2 separate regions of the Homo sapiens genome follow, and region 1 is linked to region 2. Evidence: promoter capture Hi-C in 16 types of primary human blood cells and fetal thymus (Javierre and others, 2016). All regions are on one chromosome and are shown on one strand. The core of a region is centred on a gene start or on the middle of the fragment in contact, and the rest is flanking DNA. Distances in the headings are between cores, read along the strand shown.

Evidence for each region. The method cuts DNA at HindIII sites, captures the fragments that hold promoters and counts their contacts. A CHiCAGO score of 5 or more calls a contact.
Region 1: a contact is called between a fragment that was not itself captured here and the fragment with the promoter of KLRF2 in region 2, in 1 of 17 cell types (neutrophils). The highest score is 6.3, in neutrophils.

Annotation. Positions count from the first base shown.
Region 1 is chr12:10,143,593-10,148,126 of GRCh38, forward strand. No RefSeq gene overlaps it. Among named protein-coding and RNA genes, the nearest start is that of CLEC7A, 16 kb to the left of the region's middle. The HindIII fragment of the contact is 6,553 bases long and covers 1-4,534 here.
Region 2 is chr12:9,880,166-9,884,407 of GRCh38, forward strand. It overlaps KLRF2 (killer cell lectin like receptor F2), which reads left to right and starts at 1,324. Exons shown (of 6, transcript NM_001190765.1): 1 at 1,324-1,500. The coding sequence starts at 1,431. It also overlaps a transcript of CLEC2A not described here. The HindIII fragment of the contact is 1,448 bases long and covers 1,233-2,680 here.

The sequences.
Region 1 (4,534 bases), core at 1,999-4,498, 270 kb after region 2:
ATCTTGAACTTTTTCTTATAGCCACAATAGAGTAACAAGGACTCAATTCACCTTCCAAATTAAAACAAACAAAAGGATATACATATATAAAGCAATAGTTTTTAAAACACTGGCTATCAAGTAATCAAGGACAGTGATTCCTGAGAGATGGAAAACAAGCAAGGTGAGCTCTATAATCGCCCTAGCTTACCAAGTTTAGAATGTTTCCAGGCCACACACAGGGAAGGGGAACTGAGGATGAGGCTAGTAAACTCCATGGATTAAAGATATATAAAGCTGAAAGCCAGAGAAGAAAAAGGCAAACAGAGTTCAGAGGAGAGTACAAGAGAAGAGTAGGCTGCATCAAGAAAGAACTCAGAGATCTACAGAGGATCTTGCTTGAGGACTCAGCAGAGTTCAGATCAAAGCACAAGTGTGAGGAGCTACCAGAGGGTCCAAGGAAAGAAACATCCAAACTGATTAGAGAAAACACTTCCCAGTGCTCACACACAGCAAGGAACAGTGCCCTTTCCCAACATCAAGGCTGGAAAAGATCATAGTTCAGTGAGGCTTTCAGTAGGATATTCAGAAACTCTTGCCTTCATAGTGGGAAATAATTAAGCCCCAGAATGAGAAATTCTTTAATATTGCCTATCATAAAAACAATAACAGAAACGTCACACTGTTTCTATGAAACTTAAACATATCTCATAATAAAACTCATAGGAGCACAAACCTATTTAGTATCGACCAAGGTAAAATGAACAATGTCTGGCTTTCAATCAAAGATCAGCAGGCATGCAAAGAGTTACAAAAATATGACCCATAATGGGGAGAATAATAATCAAAACCAACTCAGAGGTTAGAATTAGAAGATGTAGACATTAAGATAATTAATGTGTTCAAAACACATTTATATATTTTAAAAGTTACATAGAGATGTAGAAGACAAAAAAAAAACACCAAAGTACACTTTTAGAAATGTAAATGACAAAAGATAAAATTAAAAATACACTGTAAGGTATTAATGGCAGATTGGACACCCAGAAGGAAAGACTAGTGAACCTGGAGATATAACAAGAGTCACTATTAAAAATGAAGCCCCGAGAGAATATAATTTTAAAAGGAAAAGAAAGAAAGGGAAGAAGAAAGAAAAGTAAAATAAAAGAAGGAAGGCAAGCAAGAAAGAAGGAAAAGAGGCCAGGCGCGGTGGCCCACGCCTGTAATCCCAGCACTTTGGGAGGCCGAGGCGGGTGGATCACGAAGTCAGGAGATCGAGACCATCCTGGCTATCTAGGTGAAATCCCATCTCTACTAATAAATACAAAAAATTAGCCGGGCGTGGTGGCGGGCACCTGTAGTACTTGGGAGGCTGAGGCAGGAGAATGGCATGAACCCGGGAGGTGGAGCTTGCAGTGAGCCGAGATCGTGCCACTGCACTCCAGCCTGGGCGACAGAGTGAGACTCTGTCTCAAAAAAAAAAAAAAGAAGGAAAAGAGAAGGAGAAAGAACAGAAAGTAATAGAAAGGAAAGAAGGCAGGGGGAAGAGAAGCGGAAAGTAAGAGAGGGGAGGGGACGGGAGGGAAAGGGCAGAGCAGAGCATTAGGTTGCTGGGAGATAATTTCTAGCGCCTAATACGCGTGTATTAAATCCCTTAACAGTGTGTGGGAGTGGGGTAGAGGTTGGAGCAGAAAACATATTTGAAAAAATAATGCTTAACATTTTCAAAGCTAATGAAAAATGTAAAACAATAGATCCAAAAGCTAAAGAACTCTGAATACAAGAAACAAACAAAAAAACTTCACCAAGGCACATCATAATAAAAAATGCATAAACCCTGTGACAAAACGAAAATAAAATATCTAACAAAAGCATAGATAATTATGTACAGAGAAACAAAGAATGATAGAATATTTGTCATAAGAAATAATACAAGTAAGAAGACTGTGGAGTAACATTTTTGAAGTATACAAAAAAATCTGTCAGCCTAGCATTCTACACCCAGTGAAAATATCATTTAAAAGTACAGATGAAATAATAATGTTTTCAGACATCTTAAATCAGAATTAATCACAAACAGAATTTCAGTAGAGAAAACATTTAAAAAATTCTTCAGGAGGCCGGGCACGGTGGCTCACACCTGTAATCCCAGCACTTTGGGAGGCCAAGGCAGGCAGATCACAAGGTCAAGAGATCGAGACCATCCTGGCTAACATGGTGAAACCCTGTCTCTACTAAAAAATACAAAAAATTAGCCAGGCATGGTGGCAGGTGCCTGTAGTCCCAGCTACTTGGGAGGCTGAGGCAGGAGAATGGCATCAACCTGGGAGGCGGAGCTTGCAGTGAGCAGAGATCGGCCACTGCACTCCAGCCTGGGCGACAGAGCGAGACTCCGTCTAAAAAAAAAAAAAAAAAAGGAGGAAAAAGAAATAGGAAATAGATCAAAGGAGACAAATTGAAAACAAATATCAAGATGACAGACTTAAGTATAATTAATCAGAATTTCATTAAATGTAAATGTTTTAAACACCCAAAAGAAATTGTTAAATGATGTAAAATAGCGAGCCCAAATGTTATGTCAGCTAAAAGGAATATACTCGGTTTAAAGACAAAAAAATAGGTTAAAAGTAAAAGGATAAAAAAAGATATATCATGCCAATATTAATCAAAGAAAAGCAGGAGTGGCTGTACTAATTTCAGACTAATAGATTTCAGAACAAACATTACTAACAGGAATAAAAAAGTTTACTTGGTTAGAGGTCAGTTCATCAAGAGAGAATGAAAATCCATAATATTTATGCCTTGATTATCAGAGCTTTAAAATATACAAAGCAAACCTGATAGAACTACAGGAGAAGTAGACAAAATCATAATTATCATCAAAGGTTAGATACTCCTTTTTCAATAATTGATATGATAATAGACAAAAAATATCAGCAAGCATATAACAGACTTCAACCAGACTGGGGATGGTGACTCATGCCTGTAATCCCAGCACTTTGCGAGGCGAGTCAGGTGGATCACCTGAGGTCTGGAGTTCAAGACCAGTCTGGCCAACTTGACGAAACTAAGAATACAAAAATTAGAGGGGCATGGTGGTGTATGCCTGTAATCCCAGCTACTCGGGAGGCTGAGGCAGGAGAATCTCTTGAACCCAGGAGGCGGAGGTTGCAGTGAGCCAAGATCGCGCCACTGCACTCCAGCCTGGGGGACAAAAGCGAAACTCTGTCTCAAAAAACTATATATATATATAGCCGGGCATGGTGGCACATGACTGTAATCCCAGCTTCGCAGGAGGCTGAGAGAGGAGAATCGCTTGAACCCGGGAGGCGGAGGTTGCACCCGCGCCACTGCACTCCAGCCTGGCCGACAGAGACCGAGACACCTTCTCAAAACTAAATAAATAAATAAAGACTTGAATCAAATTATTGTCCGCATTTATTTGATGTACATTTTAACAACATTCCATCCAACGACAACAGATTACATATTCTTTTTAAGTGTACATGGAAAATTTGCCAAGATAGATCATATTTTTGGCCATAAAATGTCTCAATAAATTTAAGGGTTTAAGTCATTAAAAATGTTTCTTCTCACATGGAAACTAATAGTATAATGATTTCTGGAAAATTCCCAAGTATTTGGAAATTAACACATTCTAAATAATCAATGAATCAAAGAGGAAATTTGAAGGGAAATTAGAAAGTGTTTTGAACTGAATAAATGTGAAAAATTACCATACCAGAATCTGTTGTATACCACTAAAGCAATATTTAAAGGAAAGTTTAAAGCACTGCATGACTATATAAAAAAGAAGAAATGCCTCAAATTAATGAACTCAGCTTCCATATTAAGAAACAAGAAAAAGAAGAAATTAAAACCCAACTAAGTAGAAAAAAGAAACAATAGCAATCAAAGTAGAAATTAATGAAATAGGAAACAAAAATATATAGACAAAGTCAATGAAACAAAGAGCTTTTTTAGACAGCAATTTCAACTTTTATTCTAGATTCAGTGGGTACATATGCAGGTTTGTTACATGGGTAAATTTCATGATGCTGAGGTTTGTAGTGCAGATCATTCTGTCACCTAGGAAGAGAGCATAGTACCCAATAGGTAGTTTTTCAGCTGACATTTCCCTTCCTCCCTCCCTCCCCCTTCTAGTAGTTCCCAGTATCTATTGTTCTCATTATTACGTCCATGCGTACTCAATGCTTAGCTCCCACTTGTAAGTGAGTACATGCAGTATTTGGTTCACTGTTCCTATGTTAATTCACTTAGGATAATGGCCACCAGCTGCCTCCATGTTGTTGCAAACAACATGATTTCATTCTTTTTTATGGCTGTGTAGTATTCCATGGTGTATATGTACCACATTTTCCTTATACAATCCACTGTCAATGGACACCTAGGTTGATTCCATGTCTTTGCTATTGTGAATAGTGCTGTGATGAGCATACGAGTGCACGTGCTTTTTGGTAGAGTGATTTATTTTCCTTCAGATATATATCCAGAAATGAGATTTTCAGATTGAATCATAGTTCTGTTTTAAGTT
Region 2 (4,242 bases), core at 74-2,573:
TGTCTGGTTGTGAACCTAACAGGAAGGATAAGCACTCAGAGAAATACATCTAAATCATCTTATCAGAAACTAATAGGTGAGATGACTTGTCGGAAACTCAAAAAGAACAAAATAGAAAAATGAATGAGAAGCTAAGAGGTACATATAGAGATCATGCAGAATGGACGCGGCGTGTGTAAATATTCATTCCCATGTAAATACTCACAAGTGACATCCAGTGTTGAGGAGGAGACTCAATAATCAGGTGAACACAACATGTGCTGTGGGAAACAGTCAGCCACCTTCCCCAGACACTCGGTGTTAAATCAATGGATTGATATTGAGTGGCCACGTAGCAGAAACAGAACCATTAGCATGTGTGTGTGTGTGTGTGTGTGTGTGCGTGTTAAGTGAAATATATATAAAATAAGGAATGTGATTATGGAGGCTGGTAAGTCAAAATTCTGCAAATGAGCATGGACAGACTGGGTACCTAGGAAGGCTCAATTCAAATGCAAAGTCCACCGTCTGTAGAATCAGGAGGAGCTAATGCTGCAGATAGTCTGAAGGCCATTGCTGGAGAATTCTCTCTCACTCAGGGAAGACAAGTCTTTTTGTTCTATTCAAGGCTCCAACTGACTCAATAAGGCCCAGTCACATTACAGAGGAGGCAAATCTGCCTTACTCAAAGGTCACCTATTTAAATATGAATCCCATCCAAAAACACCCTCACAGAAATAAGCAGAATGATGTCTGATCAACTATCTGGACTCTCTGTGACTCAGCCAAGTTGACACAAAATAAACTGCCACACCTACTGAAGGAAAATCTGCCTGGCGTTTTCTGAAAAACAAACAAACAAACAAAAAAGTTTAAAAAGTTAAATTCTTTGCAAGTGATTCCGATTTTCACTAACTTGAGACTTGCTGATCTTTTATTTTCCTATTTTTGTCCCATCTAACCATCGTTATTTGGACTCTACTAGTCAAATATGTCCCAAATAACAAAATTGCTATTTTAACTTTTTTAATTTGAATTTTTATTTACCTAGACATTTGTTCTGTTTGTTTAGAGATTATTTGTTTTATTTTATTTTTTCTCTTACTTTATTATAAAAGACATGAAGGAAGGAATTATGTTTCTAATACACCGCACACAAGTGGCAGGAACACACAAGTCCATTTGTTGAAAACAGTGGAACACACTAGCTACCTTTACCTTGAAATTCACAGAATTGTAGCCAGATATTAACAAGCTTATATCCATTTTCATTTACCAACACATCCTGTGTGGTTTTAGACATCTGTGTCTGAGTAAATTTTGACTATTTTTGGCCTTCCTTTTAGTTTTCTTTTAGTACCTTGTGCCAAAGAGACATATCCAAGGTTGAGATTAGTTTCCATTTTCTTTGTACTATTTTCTGGATAATAAGACATTAGACATTTGAAGAGATGGAGAATGAAGATGGGTATATGACGCTGAGTTTCAAGAATCGTTGTAAATCGAAGCAGAAATCTAAAGGTAGGAATACTGCTCCCCATCACCGCATTTAAAATTTCATTATTCTTCTAGGAAGAGAATTATCTTAGAATATTTTTAACATCTTAACATTGATCATAATAAGGAATATAAAAATGGTCATAAATTGTCTGTTAGATTATTTAGATTCATGAAAGCATCAACAATAAAAAGTCTGCATTTTCAGAGCCATGAGGTAAGAGAAATGCGAATATGACGATGTGTAATCCTGTGTGTTGTAGCATAAGAACATCACTTTCGAAGAAAAGGCTGAAAAATTGTGTTTTTACAGAAACTTCCTCCTACAAAACTTAAAGTTTATATAAACTTAAAGCGTATATATATGCTTATATATATATTTATGCTTATACATATATAATATTTTTAATCTTCGTAAAAGCCCTATAGGATTGGTAGAACAATCTACTGGGAATGCGAGAAGAGAGAAAAAAAAACAAAAAAACATTAATCTTTGCTCCTTAGGGCTGCTCTGTGGTTGGCTTTGTTTGCTTTTTCAGGAATTTTGAAAACAATCTTGTTGAAATAGCCAAGACCTAAGTTAAGATGACATAGGCCAGAAATTCAGAATTACCAGTCGCAGTGGCAGTTCTGCCATATGTATTGAACATTCTCGTGTACAATCTCATTTTATATCTAGCAAATGCAAACTTCCCCTGCACCCCCTGCCCCCACAAAATGACACTTTTGTTATTATCTGAAGACTCAGATCTTTTTTGTGTTTCAATATCATGAAACAAATGTTTACTTTTTCAATAGTAACTTACTTCCATGCAGCAAAAACTAGTACCATTGGTGTTAAATTGACTGAGGCAGACCAGGCACGGTGGCTCATGCCTGTAATCCCAGCACTTTGGGATGCAGAGGTGGGCGGGTCACCTGAGGTCAGGAATTCGAGACCAGCCTGGCCAACATGGTGAAACCCCGTCTCTACTAAAAATACAAAAAAAATTAGCTGGGTATGGTGGCGTGTGCCTGTAATCCCAACTACTTGGGAGGCTGAGGCAGGAGAATCGCTTGAACCCGGGAGACGGAGGTTGCAGTCAGCTGAGATCATGCCACTGCACTCCAGCCTGAGTGACAGAGCAAGACTCCATATATAAAAAAACAAAAAAAATTATTCAGACCCTAAAGCCCACAGACTAAATGTATGGCTCTGGGCAGAAGCTTTTAGCCTTCTTAAATCTCAATACTTTGATATATAATAAGAAAAATCTACCTGATGATGCTTTTATGTGGATGTTAAACTAAATTTACTATTTTTTAATCTATAAACTACTTTTTAATATACAAATGTGTACAGAGACTTAAAATCTGAGTATTGATACATAAAATATAAGATAATATCCATTTAAATTATGAATGAAGGAAGGATAGGGCTGGGAAAATAAATTGGGCCAGAAAAATTACTGTAGGCATGTTTGTGCTTGCTATACATTTGCTTCCAAGCTTCCTTGTTATTACTGACCTAAGGGAATTCTTACCAGTTGTTCAGTTCACATTGTGTATAAGATAAAGTTACACCTATTCCTTAAGATTGATATAATTAATCTTGATCCTAAATCAGAAAAAATATTTTCCTGAGTTCTCATGAAGCACATAAAATAATACAATTAGTGTTCTTGCAATAGTAGCACCAGCAGATTTTGTAAGACAATTTCTTCATATAGCCCTGTGTAAGCCAATGGCATCTAGCCAAGCAGTGCTAGGATAGGCCAGCATACTGCACTTCATGTACTCAGCTCTCTGTTCACCTGGCTTGATATAGTATGTAAATCATGGCTTACATGAAAATATTAATTTTTGGTCTATTGTTCAGTTTTTTATAAATCTTATTTGGCAAGAAGTTTAAAGTCTCCCTCCCTGGCATGTATGGAAAGAGCACTTGTTAACTACAGATCCATATACCCTTGATTGATATTTTCTCATAAAATTGCAGAAATGTATTTTGACGATTTTCAATTAAGTAGAAGTCTTTCCATATTTGCTTGAACAGCAGAAATATCTACAGGGAAGAAAAAGAAAGAAAATTATTTTGGACTTAGTAATACAGACAATTGAGTAGCAAATTTCAAAAGGTACACTACATACAGTAAATTCTCTAAGTATATACTATAGATCTAATCAAATGCAGTAAATCCATAAAACCTATTGAAGTAAAGCATCCACACAGAAATTAGATTTGAGAAACAGCACTTTTATTATGACTTAGAAGACAAATTATTTGTGAAATGTACAACCAAGGTGATGAAATTAAATGTTTGTTTATAGATAAAAGAATAAAAAATAGGGAATAATTATCAGAGTATCTCAAATTACTTTGCTTTCTCTTTGGCCACTAGCCTGGCAAACTGACTAAAATGATTGTAGATTGAGATATTAATTATATGATGTCTGCATATAAAAGGAACCTGTCATAGTTTTGTGAAAAAAGTGTATACATCCAATTTATTCAAAAGTGCTAATATGTGGAAAAAAGTAGATAAAATTGAAAGAGGATTATTATACATGCCCCTGTTTAACCTCTCTAGAGATTACTTGTTTATTCCTTTATAAGGAAGCTATTCTTGCCAACTCTAATGCGATGAAATACTATAGCATAGATGTCATATAAGCATCATTAATTGGAGATCTAATACTACCTAAGCTGAAACTGACTCCTGTCTAAAGAGTCAAACCCAGAAAAATATAATATATTACAGGTGTAAGGTGAAATAAAATGTGGAT